7 separate regions of the Homo sapiens genome follow, and regions 2, 3, 4, 5, 6 and 7 are each linked to region 1. The links are contacts of gene promoters, found by promoter capture Hi-C in blood cells and fetal thymus (Javierre and others, 2016). All regions are on one chromosome and are shown on one strand. The core of a region is centred on a gene start or on the middle of the fragment in contact, and the rest is flanking DNA. Distances in the headings are between cores, read along the strand shown.

What was found. The method cuts DNA at HindIII sites, captures the fragments that hold promoters and counts their contacts. A CHiCAGO score of 5 or more calls a contact.
Region 2: a contact is called between a fragment that was not itself captured here and the fragment with the promoter of C1QTNF4 in region 1, in 1 of 17 cell types (endothelial precursors). The highest score is 5.6, in endothelial precursors.
Region 3: a contact is called between a fragment that was not itself captured here and the fragment with the promoter of C1QTNF4 in region 1, in 1 of 17 cell types (endothelial precursors). The highest score is 6.7, in endothelial precursors.
Region 4: a fragment that was not itself captured here is called in contact with the fragment with the promoter of C1QTNF4 in region 1 in 2 of 17 cell types (M1 macrophages and megakaryocytes); the score reaches 7.5 in M1 macrophages.
Region 5: a contact is called between the fragment with the promoter of SLC39A13 here and the fragment with the promoter of C1QTNF4 in region 1, in 5 of 17 cell types (M1 macrophages, endothelial precursors, erythroblasts and 2 more). The highest score is 8.6, in M1 macrophages.
Region 6: a contact is called between a fragment that was not itself captured here and the fragment with the promoter of C1QTNF4 in region 1, in 2 of 17 cell types (M1 macrophages and erythroblasts). The highest score is 6.6, in M1 macrophages.
Region 7: a contact is called between a fragment that was not itself captured here and the fragment with the promoter of C1QTNF4 in region 1, in 2 of 17 cell types (M2 macrophages and M1 macrophages). The highest score is 7.2, in M2 macrophages.

Annotation. Positions count from the first base shown.
Region 1 is chr11:47,593,142-47,595,699 of GRCh38, forward strand. It overlaps C1QTNF4 (C1q and TNF related 4), which reads right to left and starts at 1,270. Exons shown (of 2, transcript NM_031909.3): 1 at 1,007-1,270. The HindIII fragment of the contact is 4,016 bases long and covers 1-2,558 here.
Region 2 is chr11:47,833,045-47,835,602 of GRCh38, forward strand. All of the region lies in intron 7 of NUP160 (nucleoporin 160), which reads right to left. Among named protein-coding and RNA genes, the nearest start is that of NUP160, 14 kb to the right of the region's middle. The HindIII fragment of the contact is 1,062 bases long and covers 758-1,819 here.
Region 3 is chr11:47,372,338-47,374,895 of GRCh38, forward strand. All of the region lies in intron 2 of SPI1 (Spi-1 proto-oncogene), which reads right to left. Among named protein-coding and RNA genes, the nearest start is that of SPI1, 4.9 kb to the right of the region's middle. RefSeq lists an enhancer at 1,829-2,330. The HindIII fragment of the contact is 1,344 bases long and covers 614-1,957 here.
Region 4 is chr11:47,785,155-47,787,712 of GRCh38, forward strand. It overlaps NUP160 (nucleoporin 160), which reads right to left. Exons shown (of 36, transcript NM_015231.3): 32 at 1,299-1,400. Among named protein-coding and RNA genes, the nearest start is that of FNBP4, 19 kb to the left of the region's middle. The HindIII fragment of the contact is 3,579 bases long and covers 1-2,558 here.
Region 5 is chr11:47,407,303-47,409,860 of GRCh38, forward strand. It overlaps SLC39A13 (solute carrier family 39 member 13), which reads left to right and starts at 1,288. Exons shown (of 10, transcript NM_001128225.3): 1 at 1,288-1,360. SLC39A13-AS1 (SLC39A13 antisense RNA 1) reads right to left here and starts at 1,980. Exons shown (of 4, transcript NR_182308.1): 1 at 1,650-1,980. RefSeq lists enhancers at 570-1,392, 1,681-2,547, 2,548-2,558 and a silencer at 801-1,590. The HindIII fragment of the contact is 27,134 bases long and covers 5-2,558 here.
Region 6 is chr11:47,753,680-47,756,237 of GRCh38, forward strand. FNBP4 (formin binding protein 4) reads right to left here. Exons shown (of 17, transcript NM_015308.5): 3 at 849-985. Among named protein-coding and RNA genes, the nearest start is that of FNBP4, 12 kb to the right of the region's middle. The HindIII fragment of the contact is 2,118 bases long and covers 229-2,346 here.
Region 7 is chr11:47,459,924-47,462,481 of GRCh38, forward strand. No RefSeq gene overlaps it. Among named protein-coding and RNA genes, the nearest start is that of RAPSN, 12 kb to the left of the region's middle. The HindIII fragment of the contact is 8,567 bases long and covers 1-2,558 here.

The sequences.
Region 1 (2,558 bases), core at 20-2,519:
CAAGGGAAAGCATTTTGGCCCAAGGTCACCCATGGAGCACTGAGGTTTTTTGACTCAAATTCCGTATGCCTTCCTGTCACTCTTCCCTCCTAGACACAGGTATGTCCAGCCAATTTGTTCTGTGCCTCAGTTTACCTTTTTGCAAAACTAGGAGAGGAGATCAGAGGAATGAGTCTTGGGATCCAGGGTGAGGAAGACAGAAAGCAAAACCAAACAAAAGCAAGCAAACACATTCTCTAGTGTTTTGTCTTCTGGGAACACGGAAAACAGCTCAGCTTTTCCATACCGCTGCTTTCCTAGTGGGTCCTGCCCCAGAAGCAGCTGCCCAGCAACCTCCTGACCAAGGCTGGTGCACCCCACCAGTGCCAAGGGTCTTCCTGTGCACCCAGTACCCAGCCTCCGTTTCACCCACACTGCCCAATTCCCAGATCCCTGGATCCTCGTCCTTCCCTGAACCCCCTTCCCTGAGCAGGTCAGAGGTGTGGGAGGGTGTGTCAGGTGGGTGTCATAGCTCCAGGGAAGGAAATGGCTGTTCCTGGCTCTGTCCAGGTGGGGTTCAAAATAGTCATCTTCAAAGAGAAAAACTGGGACACAGAGCTGGAGAGACCCAGAGCCCCGGAGCCAAGGCGGGAGGTGCAGCGATGTCAGGCTGAGGGGATCGCAGAGTTCCCCCTTGCCCTGCCACTCACCAGTTAACCCTTCCCTCAAGCCCTGCCAGAGCCCCCTCCCCAACCTACCTTGAAAGCCCCTCATCCTTCCAAGAAGTCCCACTTTCACAGAAGCCAATTAATCCTTATTTTTAAAAAACAAAAACCAATCCCTCTCCCCCGAGACCTTCCCTCCATCCATCCATCCCTTTGGAATGAAAGCCCTTGTGCCTGTTTCACGAAAAGGCTCCCAGGTCCTCCTTTCAAGGAAAAAGGACCCAATTTCCCCGCGCCTCCCCAGCCCTCGCTTCCAGTAAAGGGGGAACCTCGGCTCCCTGCCTCCCCTCAGCTGCCCTCACCTGGCTGGGGGCGGCGGTCGAGTCGGGTTCGGTCTGAGCCCGCGATCTGGCTCCGGGCTGCGGGCTGCGGGCTGCAGGCTGCAGGCTGCGGGTGCCGGGCTGCGCGCTGACCGCCCGCGCTGCGGCAGGGGCGGCGGGGGCTCCGGCTGCTTTTCCCGGCTCTGAGGCGGCAGCGGACAGGGTGCTGGGGCCAGGGGCCGGGCGTGGGGAGGCGTGAGGGAAAGGGAAGGTCAGCTAGAGAGGGAGCCGAGCGAGAGCGAAGAGGCGGGGGAGAGACGGGAGGGGGAGAGGAGGGGAGTAGGGGAGAGGGAGGGGCGAGCTGCGGGGCCTAGGGGCTCCGCACGGAGTCTGCGCCGAGCACTGGACCCTTCCTCATCTGTGACCTCCTTAGAGCTTCGTCCTCTGGGTCTAGAGAGCAGGCATCATTAATCTGAGCAGTTGGGGAAACTGAGGCCAGAGGCAGCAGCTAACGCGGGGTGGCCCAGAGCGCTCTACAGTCCAGCTTCCTTCCTAGTGTGGGGAGAGAGGGCTAGAGCTGGACTCAGAGGCTGGACTAGCCTTTGGGCTGCAAGGACAGTGGAAGGTGAGATTTTGGCTGGGACAGATGTCCAAGCTAAGTGGCCTTGGGGGAGAGGTCTGAAGGAAGAGAAGGATAAATGGGTCAATGTTGCCAGTAAAGGAAGAGCTGAAAATAACCTAGTTTTTCCTCCTCACCTCCAAATTGGAAAATGCCCACGGTCGGTTAGGAAAGAGGGAGAAGGGAGTCTGCAGGCATCAGAGGGGCAGCCTGCGTTCCCCGGGGTGAGGGGCAGTAAGGAGGAGAGTCCTTGGGGCAGAATGGAATTTTCTGCTGGGAAGGTTGCTCCTGCAAGAAGGGACAGGATTGAGAGGGCAATAGGTGGGGAAGAAAGGCCTCTGGAGAGGGAAACTGATGCCCTGCCTCGCTGGGGCCAGGCTAGCAAGAGTCCAGCAGGGCACCCGGGCTGGGAACAGCGGTCTTCCCATGGTAATACTCACCAGAGGCACTAGTGCTGGCCTCTACTCTGGGCTTCGAGCCCGTGGGATGGGGGCTCAGACTCCCTTTCTCTAGGCTGCTGTTCTCTCCCCTGACGGCTGTAGAGGTGACGACACTGCCTGGCACTCAGTAGATGCTGACTGAGTGGATGACTTTTGAAGAGCTCTACTTTCAGCAGCCAAGAGCTGGTGCCCTCTGCCTGGCCCTGGTTGACTCCAGAGCCATGGGCTCTAATTCTGCCTCTGCTGCAGGTCTGCTCTGTGGTCCCTGAGAGGCCTGGACCCCTGCAGAACCCCCGTCCTCTGGAGCTTTCCTTTTGGAGCTCTCAAAGTTTACCCCACCCCAGTTAATCTATTTGTCTCTAGGAAGATGTTGGTAGAGGTGATTGGCTCTGCTTCAAGGGTGTTAGGTGAATGATGGAATGAATTAACGAATATGTGCCAGAATAGAAAGGAATGAATGGAGGTGTTTTGGGCTGGATAATGAGGGTATTTGGTGACAGAGGGTGAAGCACCTGTCTAGCCCTTGTCAGATCAC
Region 2 (2,558 bases), core at 39-2,538, 240 kb after region 1:
GAAATGTTCTAAAGTTGACTATGGTAATGGTTGCTCGTATCTGTGGATATACTAAAACTCATTGAATGGTATACTTTAAATGGGTGAGTGAATTACATCTCAAGAAAGCTGTTTAAATAAATGAATAGGCTGGGCGTGGTGGCTCACACCTGTAATCCCAGCACTTTGGGAGGCTGAGGCGGGTGGATCACCTGAGGTCAGGAGTTCGAGACCAGACTGGCCCACATGGTGAAACCCCATCTCTATTAAAAATACAAAAAATTAGCCGGGTATGGTGGCAGGTACCTGTAATCCCAGCCACTGTGGAGGCTGATGAAGGAGAATTGCTTGAACCCAGGAGGCAGAGGTTGCAGTCAGTTGAGGTCACGCTACTGCACTCCAGCCTGGGTGACAAGAGTGCCAAACTCCATCACAAAAGAAAAAAAAAAAAGAATAAAGTGAACCTGTCATTTCAGGGAAAACAAATGACAGTATTTGTTGCCAATGATACATTTCAAGTTTTAAAGTGAAAACTATGATTTCAGAAAACTTCGTATCCACTAACATGAACTCCAGAGCTTCTCAAGGCTCTTCTGAGTGATCACCAATGATAATATCATCAATGATAATAGTTGTGCAGAAAGGGTTAACATAGCAGGCCTGAGGCTGCTCTCCTTAGAAAGTCTTGCTTGTACTCTGGGAGGCCGAAGTGGGCAGATCACAAGGTCAGGAGTTCGAGACCAGCCTGGCCAATATGGTGGGCACTGTGCCTCTAGCAAGCTTTCCTGGGAAACAACATTTTACACACATCATCACAATTCAGTGCTGGAAGAATTAAGCATGTCCTGTGAGACTCTACTGGGAGGGGACTCTTAGACGATTGTGTCTGGCTTCAGACTTCACTCCATGTGCCTTTTCCCTTTTTTCACTTTGCTTTGTATCTTTTCACTGTAATACATTTTAGCTGTCAGCACAACTACATACTGAGCCCTATGAGTCCTTTCAGAGTATTACTGGACATGGAGGTGAGGTGGTCTTGGGGATTACCCCCCAAAACAGTAATTTAGATACTGCATAATATAAAATGTGTCAATCCACATCCAGCCAGTTTTAATTTCTAATAAATTATAGGTATAACCCATATAAACAAAAGCTCTTTGCAGTTCTCGGTAAGAGTATAATAGGGTCCCGAGACCAAAAGTTTGAGAACCACTATTTTAGTGTGACAAACTAATTGTAACATGTCGAGGAGACTGATCAACAGGATGTTACATGAATAACAATGGAAGGAACTAAGGAAGTTAGAGCAGGGTCAATTCTCCTACCACCCACAACCTACATGCAGAGAAGAGTATACTTAGAGGAGATGGATAGGTATGTTCAAATAGTTCAAGGGTTGTCCTCCAGAAGAGAGAATAGAACAATTATGTGCAATCAAGATAAATGTCTTGATAGCATGATACTTTTGGGCCATATTAGGAAAAAACTGCAAGAATGAGCTCTTCCTCTTCCCTTCCATTCTGTTCCTGAGCAATCCAATCTAAAAACCTAGAGCAAGGTAGATATCCTTGCTGGCCAGAAGGTAAGGGTCGGGGACCTGGGGGGTTGGGGTTCGGCATAAGGAGTCAGTCTGAACAGGTTGAAGAGAACATCGGTGCAGGCATGTCCCAGCACAGGAGTGAGAACACTAGTGAGTGAGAAGGGCGTGCATGCAGGGGTGATATGGCCAGGTGTGATGAGGCAAGAGCCTAGGGACATAAGAAGACTGTCCACATTTGGGACTGCCTGACTTCGGGGGGAGGAGCACGAACAGTTTGAGATGGCTTCCACATGGACAGAAAGCTTGGTGCAGGATGGAAACTCAGGTTGGGTGAGGAGGAGGTCCATTGCATGGGGGCAGTCTGGTGGTCTCAGGGCCCAAACAGGGTAAGGAGGGCACCCACATTGGAGGAGCAATGTGGAGTGGGCTATGAGATCCCAACAGAAGTGAGAAGGGCATCCAGGAAGGGCAGTGGCCTAGCGTGGGGACTCAGTGGGGGAATCAGAGCTCCTGCATAGTAAGGGAGACAGACCCTACCTCACTGGGCTGTTATTAGGATTAAATGGATAAAACGCATATAGCATATGAGCCCAGAGTAAGCACAATCCCAGTGTCTGCTATTATTAATGTGCATAAAGGGACTGGCACAGCACCAAACACACAATGCTCAACAAATGGCTGTTTATTAAATGATTACACTATTACATCACATCCTACGTATCTCATCTACAGACAGCAGCTACTGTCTGGATGCTAAGCAAATTTATTTAGAAAAATTAACTTAACACCACATAACACCTACATCCCTTTCAGGAATTCTGTTTTTTCACCTAGAACTCCTAATTTGCTCTTCTTGTTTAGTTTCTGTTAACTTTTCCTTTCATGTTACTTTAAACTCTCTACTTCCTTTCATACTGACCCCTCCTTCAAGATCTTCTAATTCACATAGTAGCACGAAACCCAACCATCACCTCAGAAACACATCTAGGTCGGTGAAAAGAGCTTGAACAGACTCACTGAGTCTACAGCCATTTCTCCA
Region 3 (2,558 bases), core at 36-2,535, 220 kb before region 1:
CCTCAGCCACCCAAAATGCTGAAATTACAGGCATGAGCCACCACGCCCCAGCCTATTTAATTCCTTATGTCCCCATCCCCTCGCTGGAGAGTGAGCTCTGTGAGAGCAGTGGCCTTGTCTGGTGCTCATCATGGACTCCCCAGAGCCTACAAGAGTGTCTGATACTCAGAAACTATTTAATGGATGGAATAGGGAGGAAAAGTGGATCAGATGGGAAGCGGCTGGCAGGATGGACGAGTAGGTGGGTGGATGGGAGGGTGAGTGCATGGATGTGGGGGTGGGTGGCAGATTGACTGTCCCCTGGGTCAGTGGAAAATAACCCAGTTGGTCTCTCACAGAGCCCTCTGTGCTTTTCCCACTCCCCAGCCGCTTTGTCCCTCCTGCCTTGAGGAATGCAGTGAAGCTAGCACGGGCCTCGTCCTCTGCACGTTACCTTACCTCAGAGATTATATGCCTTACCTCGCTGAATCATCACAGCCCTAGGAGGTAAGTATTTTCATGCTGTCAGTTTTATAAATGGGGAAATAGGGACTCAGAAAGGTTATGTTACTTGCCCCAAGTTTTCACAGCTGGTAAGTGATGGAGCCAGGGCTGGGCCAAAGCTTTTTCACTAAGCTTCAGTACCTAAAAATGTGGACAAAGAGGACGTGCAGGAATTGACAGAAGTGTGTGGGGGTCTCTATGGTTGAGTCTTCAGACGATACCTTCCAGCGGGTATAAAAAGGGACAGCCCGGCCGGGCGCAGTGGCTCACGCCTGTAATCCCAGCACTTTGGGAGGCTGAGGCAGGCGGATCACCAGGTCAGGAGTTCGAGACCAGCCTGGCCAACATAGTGAAACCCTGTCTCTACTAAAAATACAAAAAATTAGCTGAGCGTGGTGGCAGGCGCCTGTAATCCTAGCTACTTGGGAGGCTGAGGCAGGAGAATCGCTTGAATCCGGGAGGCGGAGGTTGCAGTGAGCCAAGATTGTGCCACTGCACACCAGCCCGGGCGACAGTACGAGACTCCGTATCAAAAAAAAGGGACAGACTGGGCGCGGTGGTTCACACCTGTAATCCCAGCACTTTGGGAGGCCGAGGCAAGTGGATCACTTGAGGTCAGGAGTTTGAGAGCAGCCTGGCCAACATGGTAAAACCTCATCTCTACTAAAAATACAAAAATTAGCCAGGCATGGTAGTGCACGATTGTAATCCTAGCTACTTGGGATGTTGAGGCAAGAGAATCGCTTGGACCCAGGAGGCGGAGGTTGCAGTGAGCCAAGATTGGGCCACTGCGCTCTAGCCTGGGCAACAGAGCAAGACTGTCCTAAAAAAAAAAAAAAAAGAAAAGGACAGCCCAAATGCCCTGATTGGCAGTGATTAAGAGTGGGACAGAGCCAAGGCCGAGGACACCTGGGAACACTGGTGGAGTCTCTGGAGGAACTAGGGGTTCATGACCAACATGGGGTGCCCAGGCATCCAATCAGGAGTCATTCCTAGAGTCCCACCTGAGATATAAGGAACCTGCTTGGACCCTGAGCCACGAAAACACATGCTTTCTCTAAAGTGCTCACTCCATCAGGCCCAGCCCCAGGCTCACTGGTTTCCAGCTATGTGGGCAGCGCCCTCATATTACAGGAAGGAAAACTGAGGCTGCAAAAGGCCCAAAGGAAACGCACCCAAGCCCAGTGAACTGAAGAGGGATTGGGCCAGGGAGAATGCGTCCTTGTTGGAGGAGGCCTGACAGCACTGTCTGTGGTGACCCGAGCCACCAGGGGGCGCCTGTCCCAGGGCCCAGCGGGACCTCCTGGAGTCCTGGAACCGCTTGGGAAGGTGGGTGCGTGGTCTCTGGGTCCCCCAGACCGGGCTCTTCACTCTGGTAGGGAGAGCTGGGGATGGAGTTGGGGGAGGGGGACTTTCTCTCTACATTGCCTGGGTTTCCCACCAAGAGGATGTGTTTTTTACATAATTACAAATAAGCTTGAAGGAATTAAAAAGGATATTTTAAAGGCTTTCTAGCCCTGAAAGATTCTAAAAGATGCCTGTGCGTTCCCAGCTGTGGCCTGGAGGCATATCCGCCTACCCCTGGGATATGGCTTCCAGTCTGAGTTCCGGATGAATCTGGGGCCCTAAATGTGGACCAGGCACATGTGGATCCCTAGCTGGGCCCATCAGGTTTAGACCGCCACAGGTGCATCTGCAGAATGGAGCTACAGGCATGACTGGCCGCAGGGGTGGCCTTCAGGAGTGACACCTTCCTAGGCTGTGGGCCTCTGCCCTCTGAGGTGCAGACACCCCAGTCGCTGGTCTGCCCGGGTCCCAGACGCCCTGAGGAATTCCCCAGTGACGACTCACCCACTGACTAGGCCACCTCGCTTTGGGTCAGGGATGTCTACATCAATAAGCCAAGATCCACTTTGGGCAACCTCCCGCAGCCCCCTGCTCAGGTCCCAGGCACCTAATGCCTCTCTCCCATCCCCTGAATTTGCTCCAGGACGGAGGCTGGGCTATGGGGCAGACAGTCAGACCCAGAAGGACTGGACAGACAGAAGGACACCCTGGCCCAGGCCTCTTCCTCC
Region 4 (2,558 bases), core at 24-2,523, 190 kb after region 1:
TTTTCAGACAGGGTCTTGCTCTGTCACCCAGGCTAGAGTGGAGTGGTGTGATCTCAGCTCACTGCAGCCTCAGCCCCAGATTCTCCCATTTCAGCTTCCTAAATAGCTGGGAATACAGGCATGCACCACTATGCCCAGCTAATTTTGTTTATGTTTTGTAGAGACAAGGACTTGCTATGTTGTCCACGCTGGTATTAAACTCCAGAGCTAAAGTGATCCTCTGACCTTGTCCTCCCTAAGTGTTGGGATTACAGGCAGGAGTCACCATGCCCAGCCTTACAAGGAAAACTTTAGAAATTAACAACTGAATCAATAATATAGCTAAATGGGAACAAATATTATTTGGGCTAATGTGACTTATGGGGATAGCACTAGAAACTAGATGTCTTGGGTTCGTATATTCCTCTCCCACTAACGTATTTAGTATTTAGTAAACAAACATATTTAGTAAATGAACGTTATTTGTTTGGCTATTAATGCATAATTCATTTAACTCCTTTGTTTCTGCATTTCTAAAACAAGAAACTGGTTCAGAACACTGGTTCTCAAACCTGATCAAGCATTAGAATCATGCAGAAGTTCTAACTTAGAAGACTAGGGTGATTTCTCATAATCTGTATTTTAATAAGTTATTCTGATGTGCTAATTTAGGGGTTGAAAACTAATGTCAGAGAACTTCCAAATTCTAAAGTGCTATCACTCTAAAGTGCTAAGCTGTATAATACCAAGTGCAAATGCAGTTCAGAAAGGGAAGTTTACTGAGGGTTAGGAATGTTAGAGAAGGTTTCTGAAGAAGCTGAAGTATATTTACGTGGACACAAAGTGGGTGCACTGGGGAAGTATACGAACCAGAGGAGATCTGAAGAAGGTATAGTGGATGATGGGGGCTGATGGGTGACAGACTGCTGAACAGCAGCTGGAGACAAGATATAAGAGGACACTGTGATGAAACCATGCAGTGACTGCTCAGTGGAAGAAATGGGGGAAAAAAGGAGGATAACACTCCGAAACAAGTAAATACAGATTTTTGCCTGTAAGAGTACCCTTTCCTGATATGAAACAGTAAGTCTTTGAGGAGGGGGATATGGAGAAGGAGACATTTCATAGGCAAAGACATCCTAGTTTGGACAATAAATGACATGATGTCACCTTAATTATAAACTTTCCAGCCCCTATAAAAACTTAGCCAAAAAGAAAGAAAAAAGTGAAATGATCTATGTAGGACAATTTAGTCAGAGAAAGACAGTTACAGCTTTTAGAAAGGCAAAACTACCCAGGGTTGAACACCAGGGTTGTACCTAGACTCCTTAGTAGTGATGACAGATGAGAGCTGATTGGCTGCTAGCCAGGCCCAGGCTTCTGCTTGTGCTGCCTCTCCTCCAAATTGCAATTTGATGCATCTGGAATGAAAATGGTTCCACACTTGAAAACTGAACGCTGAAACGTACCACTTTAATTTGATACTAAAACTAGAGAGATAGATGACAACTTCATCTCTAGTCTTTTGCTGAATTCACTACTGGAATATTGGCTCATCTCTTCCTCAAGTTACACAACTGGATACCTACAAGAACATGAGTAAGCATTAAGAGACAATTTACTTCCAAGATAAAATTAATGATGAAAAATTCTTTTTTCTTTTCTTTTTTTTTGAGATGGAGTCTTGCTCTGTCACCCAGGCTGCAGTGCAGTGGTGCAATCTCAGCTCACTGCAACCTCTGCCTCCCAGGTTCAAGTGATTCTCCTGTCTCAGCCTCCTGAGTAGCTGGGACTACAGGCCCATGCCACCATGCCTGGCTAATTTTTTGTATATTTAGTAGAGACGGGGTTTCACTGTGTTAGCCAGGATGGTCTTGATCTCCTGACCTCATGATCCGCCCGCCTAGGTCTCCCAAAGTCCTGGGATAACAGGTATGAGCCACCGCACCTGGCCTCTTTTTTTTTTTAAATTAAGATGGAGTCTCGCTCTGTTGCCCAGGCTGGAGTGCAGTGGCGCAATCTCAACTCATTGTAACCTCCGTCTCCCAGGCTCAAGCGATTCTCCTGCCTTAGCCACCCAAGTAGCTGGGATTACAGGCACACGCCACCTCTCCTGGCTAACTTTTGTATTTTTAGTAGAGATGGGGTTTCGTCATGTTGGCCGGGCAGGTCTTGAACTCCTGACCTCAAGTGATCTGCCCACCTTGGCCTCCCAACGTGATGGCATTACAGGCGTAAGCCACTGCACCTGGCTGAAAAATTCTGAAAGTTCAAAATTATTTCTAATTCACAAACTTTTTTTTTTTTTTTTTTTGAAACAGAGTCTTGCTTTGTTGCCCAGGCTCGAGTGCAGAGGCGCGATCTCAGCTCACTGCAACCTCTGCCTCCCAAGTTCAAGAGATTCTTGTGCCTAAGCCTCCTGAGAGGCTGAAATTACTGTTGTGTGCCACACCCTCATTTTTGTATTTTTAGTAGAGACAGGGTTTCACCATGTTGGCCAGGCTGGTCCCAAGCGATCCACCCGCCACAGCCTCCCAAAGTATTAGTAGGATTACAGATGTGAGCCACTGTGCCTGGCC
Region 5 (2,558 bases), core at 38-2,537, 190 kb before region 1:
AGAAAGCTTCAGAAGACAAGCTGGGCCACCAGGGAGAAGTTGGCGGTCTAAGGAAGGCCAACAGTGCAACATGAAGTGGGACAGGCACCAGAGGCAGCCCTGAGAGCTGAGTGTGCTCTCAAGAGCCCCAGCAGAGGGGAAAGTGACAGAGTAAATGGTTGGAGCTGCCATGGGAGGCTGATGAGGGTCAGAGACTTAAGAGACCTGTACTCAGTCGCTATCTCTGCCCAAGTGAGTACCCACATGCCCCTTCCTGAATCTTCTCCTGTACTGGCTGATTTCCAGAGAAGAATACAAACTCGAAACGCCAAGCCAGACTCCCACTGCTGTTCAGGACCTAGACGTGAGAAGTGGTATCACATACTCTGGCTTCAGGACACCCAGGTTTGAATCCTGGCTCTGCCATCTGTGCCACTGTGTGACCCTGGGCTAACAGTACCCACCACAATGGGATAATATGAGGATTCAGTGAGATAGTGCGAGTAAAGTGAATAGCACATAGTAGGTGGTCAGTAAATTGCGGTTATAAGAACTGCTATCCAGTGTTTGCTGCCTTAGTCTAACCAAAGAGGTCAGGTCTAGCTTCCTCCAGGTGAGGGAAGCACAGAGCCCTCGCCTCCCAGGTTTGGAGTTCCCATCAGCAGGGTCCAGCCACCATGCATTGGACCCCAAAGGGTTACAAGCCCTGGAGACAGTGGCCTGAGGTTCCCAGTGAAAAACCAAAGCATAAAAATAATTCGATGAGTAAGAATAAAATTCCCTCTTCTGAGGTTCCCGGGGCCAGGCCCCTCCCTGCGGCAGGCACTTCCCCTTTCCCTTGCTCATGGAGGAGCCAGGCCGGGCTGACTCAGAGCAGGAGCGCACAGTAGTCCTCCCAGCCCGACCTGGGCGGCGTGGTCTGGCGGCCGGGCGCGCCCCCGTGCGGCCACGGGCAGACTGCGGCCCTGGACGGGAAGCGGCGGCCAGATCCGCAAGCCCCGCAGCCTGGTCGATCGCGGTCCCCGCAGAGCCGCCGCTTCCGTCCCTGCCCAGCCTGGCTGAGCGCGGTGCGTGTGGCTCTCTCACTTCCGACCGACCCTCCCCTCCGGCCCGCAGCCCTGCCCAAACGGAAGTGCGCCCTCTACCCGGGTCCCCCACCGCCGCGAGGCGGAAGCGCCCTCCCGCCGCCACTCCCCCCGACCCCGCGGCACGCGGCGCCTCGGGTTCCGGACAGGCCCCTTGTGACGTGGCCGCGCGCCGGGGGCGGCCCCGGGCCGGGGGCCGGGCGGCCGGGCGGCCGGGCGGGGCAGAGCCTGGGCGGGGCGCGGCACCGCAGCTGGATGGCTGGGGCCGCCCGGATCGCCGCCGCCGCCGCCGCACGGTGAGTGCCAGCAGGACCCTCGGGGCCCGCGCCCCGGGCGTGATGGACCCGGCCGATCCCTCGCCCCGTCCGACTGGTCCTCATCAGACCTGGGCCGGCTCCCAGGACCCGGGAGTCAGGCTCGCCCGCTTCGGCCTCCTCTCCCCCATCGCTCCGCGCCCCACGCCCCATCCCTCCCTCGCTGTCCTCTCCGCGTCCCACCCGCCTCTCTCTAGCTCTCTCACTCTCTACTTTCCTCTCCCCTTGGACTCTCCGTGTATTCCCTCCCGCTAGCCTGTGGTCCCCTCACCTCTGCGTGACCGCCTCGTCCTGGCCCAGTCTTGCCTGTGGTCCCCAGTGGAGCCCCGCTGGCTTCATCAGTGCCCCTGATTAGTTAAGGCCTGGAGGTCCTAGACATGGGCATCTCTGCCACCACCCAGAGGCAGCTGCTTTCTTCCCCTCCCATCTCCATCAGAAGGTGAGGAAACTGAGGCAGGGACATCACCAGCTCAAGGTCACAGCCAGCCTGAGGCAGAGCAGACCACATTTAAACCTCATGCCCGAGTTTCCAGATGGAACTTCTCGCTTGGTTGACTCACGTCCACATCCTGTGATCGGCCGGCTGGGCACATTCCTGCTGCAGGGAGCCCCAGGCCTTCCCTGGCACAGGCAGGGCCTCTGCGCCTCCTCATGCCGGGTACATCCACCTGCACTTTCAGGCTTATCTCGTCCTCACAGCTGAGGCAGGTGATATTGATCCCTGTCCTGCAGATGAGGGCACTGAGGCTCAGAGGGGGGGCTTCAGAGATTTGCCCAGAGTTAGACAGCTCAAAGTGCAGCATAGAATTCACCGTGGGGGCTCTAAAGCCTGCGCTATACAAGAGAGAGGCATCCCCTGGCTAAAGGCTCCTTCCTCATCAGCCCCATCTCCTGTTGCCCTCAGTGCCCTGGGGACATTGGTCTCATGTCCTAGGAAGAAGCGTGGATGGTCTTGCCCTGGCTCATCTGCTCAGTTTCCCCACGTATGTCTCTCTGAATCCACCCCATCCCCTTAGAAGGGGTGCCTCAGTCTCTGGGGTGTCGCGGGCGGCAGGGCCTCCCCTGGCAGCCAGAGACACCCAGCTGGGCCGGGCCGTGCCGCCGGTGGCTGAGGAGAGCCAGCCAGCGCCTCACCCTGTCATTAGGGAAAGTTTAGCCTCAGGCGGAGGTGCTGACACAG
Region 6 (2,558 bases), core at 38-2,537, 160 kb after region 1:
CAGCTACTCAAGAGGCTGAGGTGGGAGAATTACTTGAACCTGGGTGGCAGAGGTTGCAGTGGGCCAACATCACGCCACCACATTTCAGCCTGGGTGACAGTAAGACCCAGTCTCGAGGGAGAAAAAAAAAATTCTAGATACTCATTCTAAGCTTCTCAAATCAAAACCCTCATCTTCCAATTATACAAGCTCCCCAGTCTCTTCTAATTTGCCTTTCTTCTCTTTGAAAGCTTTACAAAAAGAAAAGGGAGGTGGTGGCTCACGCTTGTAATCCCAACACTTTGGAAGGCCGAGGTGGGTTGATCACCTGAGGTCAGGAGTTTGAGACCAGCCTGGCCAACATGGTGAAACCCCGTCTCTACCAAAAATACAAAAATCAGCTGGGTGTGGTGGCACATACCTGTAGCCCCAGCTACTCGGGTGCACATACCTGTAGCCTCAGCTACTTGAACCCAGGAGACAGGTTGCGGTGAGGCGAGATCGTACCGCTGCACTCGAGACTGGGCAACAGAGTGAGATTCTATCTCAAGAAAAAAAAAAAAAAGGAGAGACAGCCAGGTGTGATGGCTCACACCTATAATCCCAGCACTTTGGAAGGCCGAGGTGGGAGGATCGCTTCAGCCCAAGAGTTCAAGACCAGCCTGAGCAACACAGTGAGACCCCATCTCTTAAAGTTAAACAAAACAAAACAAAAAGAGAGATAGAGATCGGGAGAAATACAAGAGAGTGTTGGAGGGAGAGGGAGAAAGGAGGAGGAAGACATTGAACTGACAAGTACGCTGACCACTTAAGATCCAGGTCCCAAAGTAGCTTCAGTAACTAAAACTCCAAACGAAAGCACCACTAACCGCTAGGAAGTTGGCCAATGTACTATCAATATCAGTTGACTGGTTTCCATTTGTCTCTTTGGATTGTGCTAGTTTTTCGGAAACATCATTGTCATCGTCATCACTGTCAGCATAAGCACCAAGCAAGCATAGACCGCCTAGAAACAAAAAGGTAAACAGTATTTGTAACAACAATGTCAATATGTCCTAAGAAGCATCTAAAGCGGAAGTATAACATGTTTTTTTTAAACTTACTTACAGATTAGAACATAACCGCAAAACTAATAATCACTGAACTACCACAGAAGAATAAATTACATCGTATGGTTAAAGCTAATAAAAATTGATCTATAGGCCTGGTGCAGTGGCTCAACGCCTGTAATCCCAGCACTTTGGGAGGCCGAGGTGGGTGGATCATGAGGTCAGGCGTTTTGAGACCAGCCTGGGCAACATGGTGAAACCCCATCTCTATTAAAAATACAAAAAATTAGCCAGGCCTGGTAGCACGTGCCTGTAGTCCCAGCTAGTGAGGCAGGAGAAGTGCTTGAACCTGGGAGGCAGAGGTTGCAGTGAGCCAAGATCACGCCACTGCACTCCACCCTGGGCAAAAGAGTAAGACTCTGTCTCCGGGGGTTAAAAAAAAAAAAAAAAAATTGATCTGGGCTGGGCATGGTGGCTCACACCTGTAATCCCAGCACTTTGGGAGGCTGAGGCGGGCAGATCACCTGAAGTCAGGAGTTCAAGACCAGCCTGACCAACATGGAGAAACCCTGTCTCTACTAAAAATACAAAATTATCCAGGTGTGGTGGCACATGCCTGTAATCCCAGCTACTCAGGAGGCTGAAGCAGAAAAATTGCTTGAACTCGGGAGGCGGAGGTTGCGGTGAGCTGAGATCACGCCACTGCACTCCAGCCTGGGCAACAACAGTGAAAATCCGTCTCAAAATAAATAAATAAATAAAATAAAAAATAAAAAAACATGTTGATCTATGAGCCAGGCAACACAGCTTATGTCTACAGACCCAACTTCTTCGGGAGGATCTGAGGCAGGAAGATCATTTGAGCCCAGAATCTGAGACCAGCCTCGAAAACATAGTGAGACCTTGTCTATCCCATAAAAACAAAAACAAAAAAAAAAAAAAGGGAAAAGGAAAAAGAATAAAAATTTAGCCGAGCATACGGCTGAGGTGCAAGGATAGCTTGAGCCCAGGAGGTTGAGGCTGCATTAAGCCGAAACATCTCCACTGTACTCCAGCCAGGGTGACAAAGTGAGACTGACCATGTCTCCAAAAAAAAAACAAAAACAAAAAAAATCGAGAACAAGAAAATTAATCTGCATAGTTATTTCAATCAATTATTCAATCTCACTCTCTTTCCAAATTGTTCATAGATAGTATATCTTGATTTTAGAATTTGGTGATTAAAGTGTTTACTTCAAACTGAGCCAATTACAGTGTAGCAGCTGAAACAAAGACTTTCAAAAACTAAAGAAATAAAGACTTTCAAAGTTAAAAACGAAGCTTTTAATCAATGATTATTCCTCAAATAGGAAGTGACAGAAATTAAAAACATGAAGTGACAGGAATTAAAAATGGGGCTCAACATGGCTAAAACCAATGATCAATGTCTTCCTCAAATTTAAGTGGTATCAGGTATGGCCTCTGTAATGCTGCTATGCCATTTCCTTTTGGATCATCTGTGGCTACTCCAAGATTACAATTAACAATATA
Region 7 (2,558 bases), core at 32-2,531, 130 kb before region 1:
ATCACCTGAGGTCAGGAGTTCGAGACCAGCCTGGCCAACATGGTAAAACCCCGTCTCTACTAAAAATAGAAAAATTAGTCAGGTGTGATGCCAGGTGCCTGTAGTCCCAGCTACTCGGGAGGCTGAGGCGGGAGAACTGCTTGAACCCAGAGGGCAGAGGCTGCAGTGAGCCGAGATCCTGCCACTGCACTCCAGCCTGGGCAACAGTGAGACTCCATCTCAAAAACAAACAAGCAAACAAACAAAAACAGCAAACTGTCTAGAACAGTCCTGCCACTGCCTGTGATGATGGAAATGTTTTGTATCGGCACTGTCCAATAGGATAGCCACCAGTCACTTGAAATGTGGCTAGTGAAACCGAGGTACTACATTTTTGTTATTTTAAGAGGGAGTTTCGCTCTTGTTGCCCAGGCTGGAGTGCAATGGCATGATCTCAGCTTACCACAACCTTCACTTCCCGGGTTCAAGCAATTCTCCTGCCTCAGCCTCCCGAGTGGCTGAGATTACAGGCATGCACCACCACGCGGGGCTAATTTTGTATCTTTAGTAGAGACGGGGTTTCTCCATGTCGGTCAGGCTGGTCTCAAACTCCCAACCTCAAGTGATCCGCCTGCCTCGTCCTCCCAAAGCGCTGGGATTACAGGCATGGAGAGGTAAGGTGAGCCACTGGCTGGGCCCATATTTAGTTATTTAAACAAAAAAAGCTACAGTGCCTAGTGGGTAACTGTATTGGACAACTGTGAGTCTAGAAGCCTTCCAGATTCAGGCTGAGGCAGATAATATCGGCAACCAGAAAGAGGAGCTGGGAGAGCTGCAGAAACAAGGCTGGATTGGGAGCAGACAAGCTCAGAAGGATGAGGGATGGCAGGAGCAGGTGCCACAAGGCAGTGGGTGCTGCCACTAGCTTTCAAGTAGGAGGAAGAAAGGAGAAAATACCTCAGGATGTTGACTAAGTGAAGGCCAGACACAAAAGGCCACATATCCCATGACTGTATTTTAATGAAATGTCCAGAACCAGTAAAGATACAGACAGAGGTATATTTGTGGTTACTAGGAAATGGGAAAGGGAGTGAGGGAGAGGATGGGGAGTGACTGCTAAATGAGTACAGGGTTCTGAAAATGTTCTAAAATTAGGCTGCATTCATGGTTGCACAACTCTGAAACTCAGTGAATGGTATGCTTTAAGTGGATGAGTTGTGTTGTGTGTGAATTATATCTCAATAAACCTGTTTATTATTTTTTTCTTGAGACAGGGTCTCGGTCTCACTTTGTTCCCTGGGCTGGGACAGTGGCACAATCTCTGCTCACTGCAACCTCCGCCTCCTGGGTTCAAGCAATTCTTGTGCCTCAGCCTCCTGAGTAGCTGGGATTACAGCCATGCGCCACCATGCCTGGTTTATTTTTAGTAGAGAAGGGGTTTCGCTATATTGGCCAGGCTGGTCTTGAACTCCTGGCCTCAAGTGGTCCACCGACCTTGGTCTTTCAAGGTGCTGGAATTACAGGCATGAGCCACCACGTCATGCAATAAAGCCGTTTAAATACAACCCAAATCTCAAGAGGACTCAGATTAGTAAGACCCATCCCCACTAATGGAAAAACCTTGGGTAGAGCAGGCCAAGACCTGGGCCTGGAAAGTGTCGGGGACTGCGGGAAAGCCCTTCCTGGTTGTGTGAGTTCAATTTCCCATCCCAAGGCTGCCTTCAATTTATTTTTGAGATGGGAGTCTCACTCTGTCGCCCAGACTGAAATGCAGCGGAATGATCTTGGCTCACTGCAACCTCCGCCCGCCGGGTTCGAGATTCTCCTGCCGCAGCCTCCCGAGTGGCTGGGATTACAGGTGCCCGCCACTATGCCCAGCTAATTTTTGTATTTTTGGTAGAGACAGGGTTTCACCATGCTAGCACTGCTGGTCTTCAACTCCTGAACTCAACTGATCTGCCTGCCTTGCCCTCCCTAAGTGTTGGGATTACAGGAGTGAGCCACCGCGCCCGACCTGCCTTGAATTTTTAAAAAACAAAAGCCTTCCCTATAGCTGGAGCCTTCAACCAGTACAGAGAAAGTCAATGCATGCAAAAGCAATTAAACACCAGATGGTGGGGGTTGGAAAGGACTCCTGAGAAGGAAGGAAAATGCTTGAAGGCACAAGGTGCAAGGCAAGTCCAGCTCCGATCTCTCCTGAAGGGAAATATTATCAAACATTAGTCTGACATTCCCTGAGGTGCAGGCACAACCTGGTGTTTAATTTCCAGCCTGGTGGCTTTTTCCTCATCAGGGACCGAGCTGCTCAGGTGAGCATAGTATGTGAGCATTAGGGAAGCTGTGTGCTGACCGAGAAAGTCAGTGCGGAGGTGCCTCTGCCAGCCAGATGAACAGGAATGTGGCAAAAAGTAGGTGTTGAGCAAGCTACAGAAGGATGAAGAGGTTTTCAAAGAATACAAAACATTGGCCGGGCGAGGTGGCTCATGTCTGTAATCCCAGCACTTTGGGAGGCCAAGGTGGGTGATCAACTTGAGGCCAGGAGTTTGAGACCAGCCTGGCTAACATGGTGAAACCCTGTC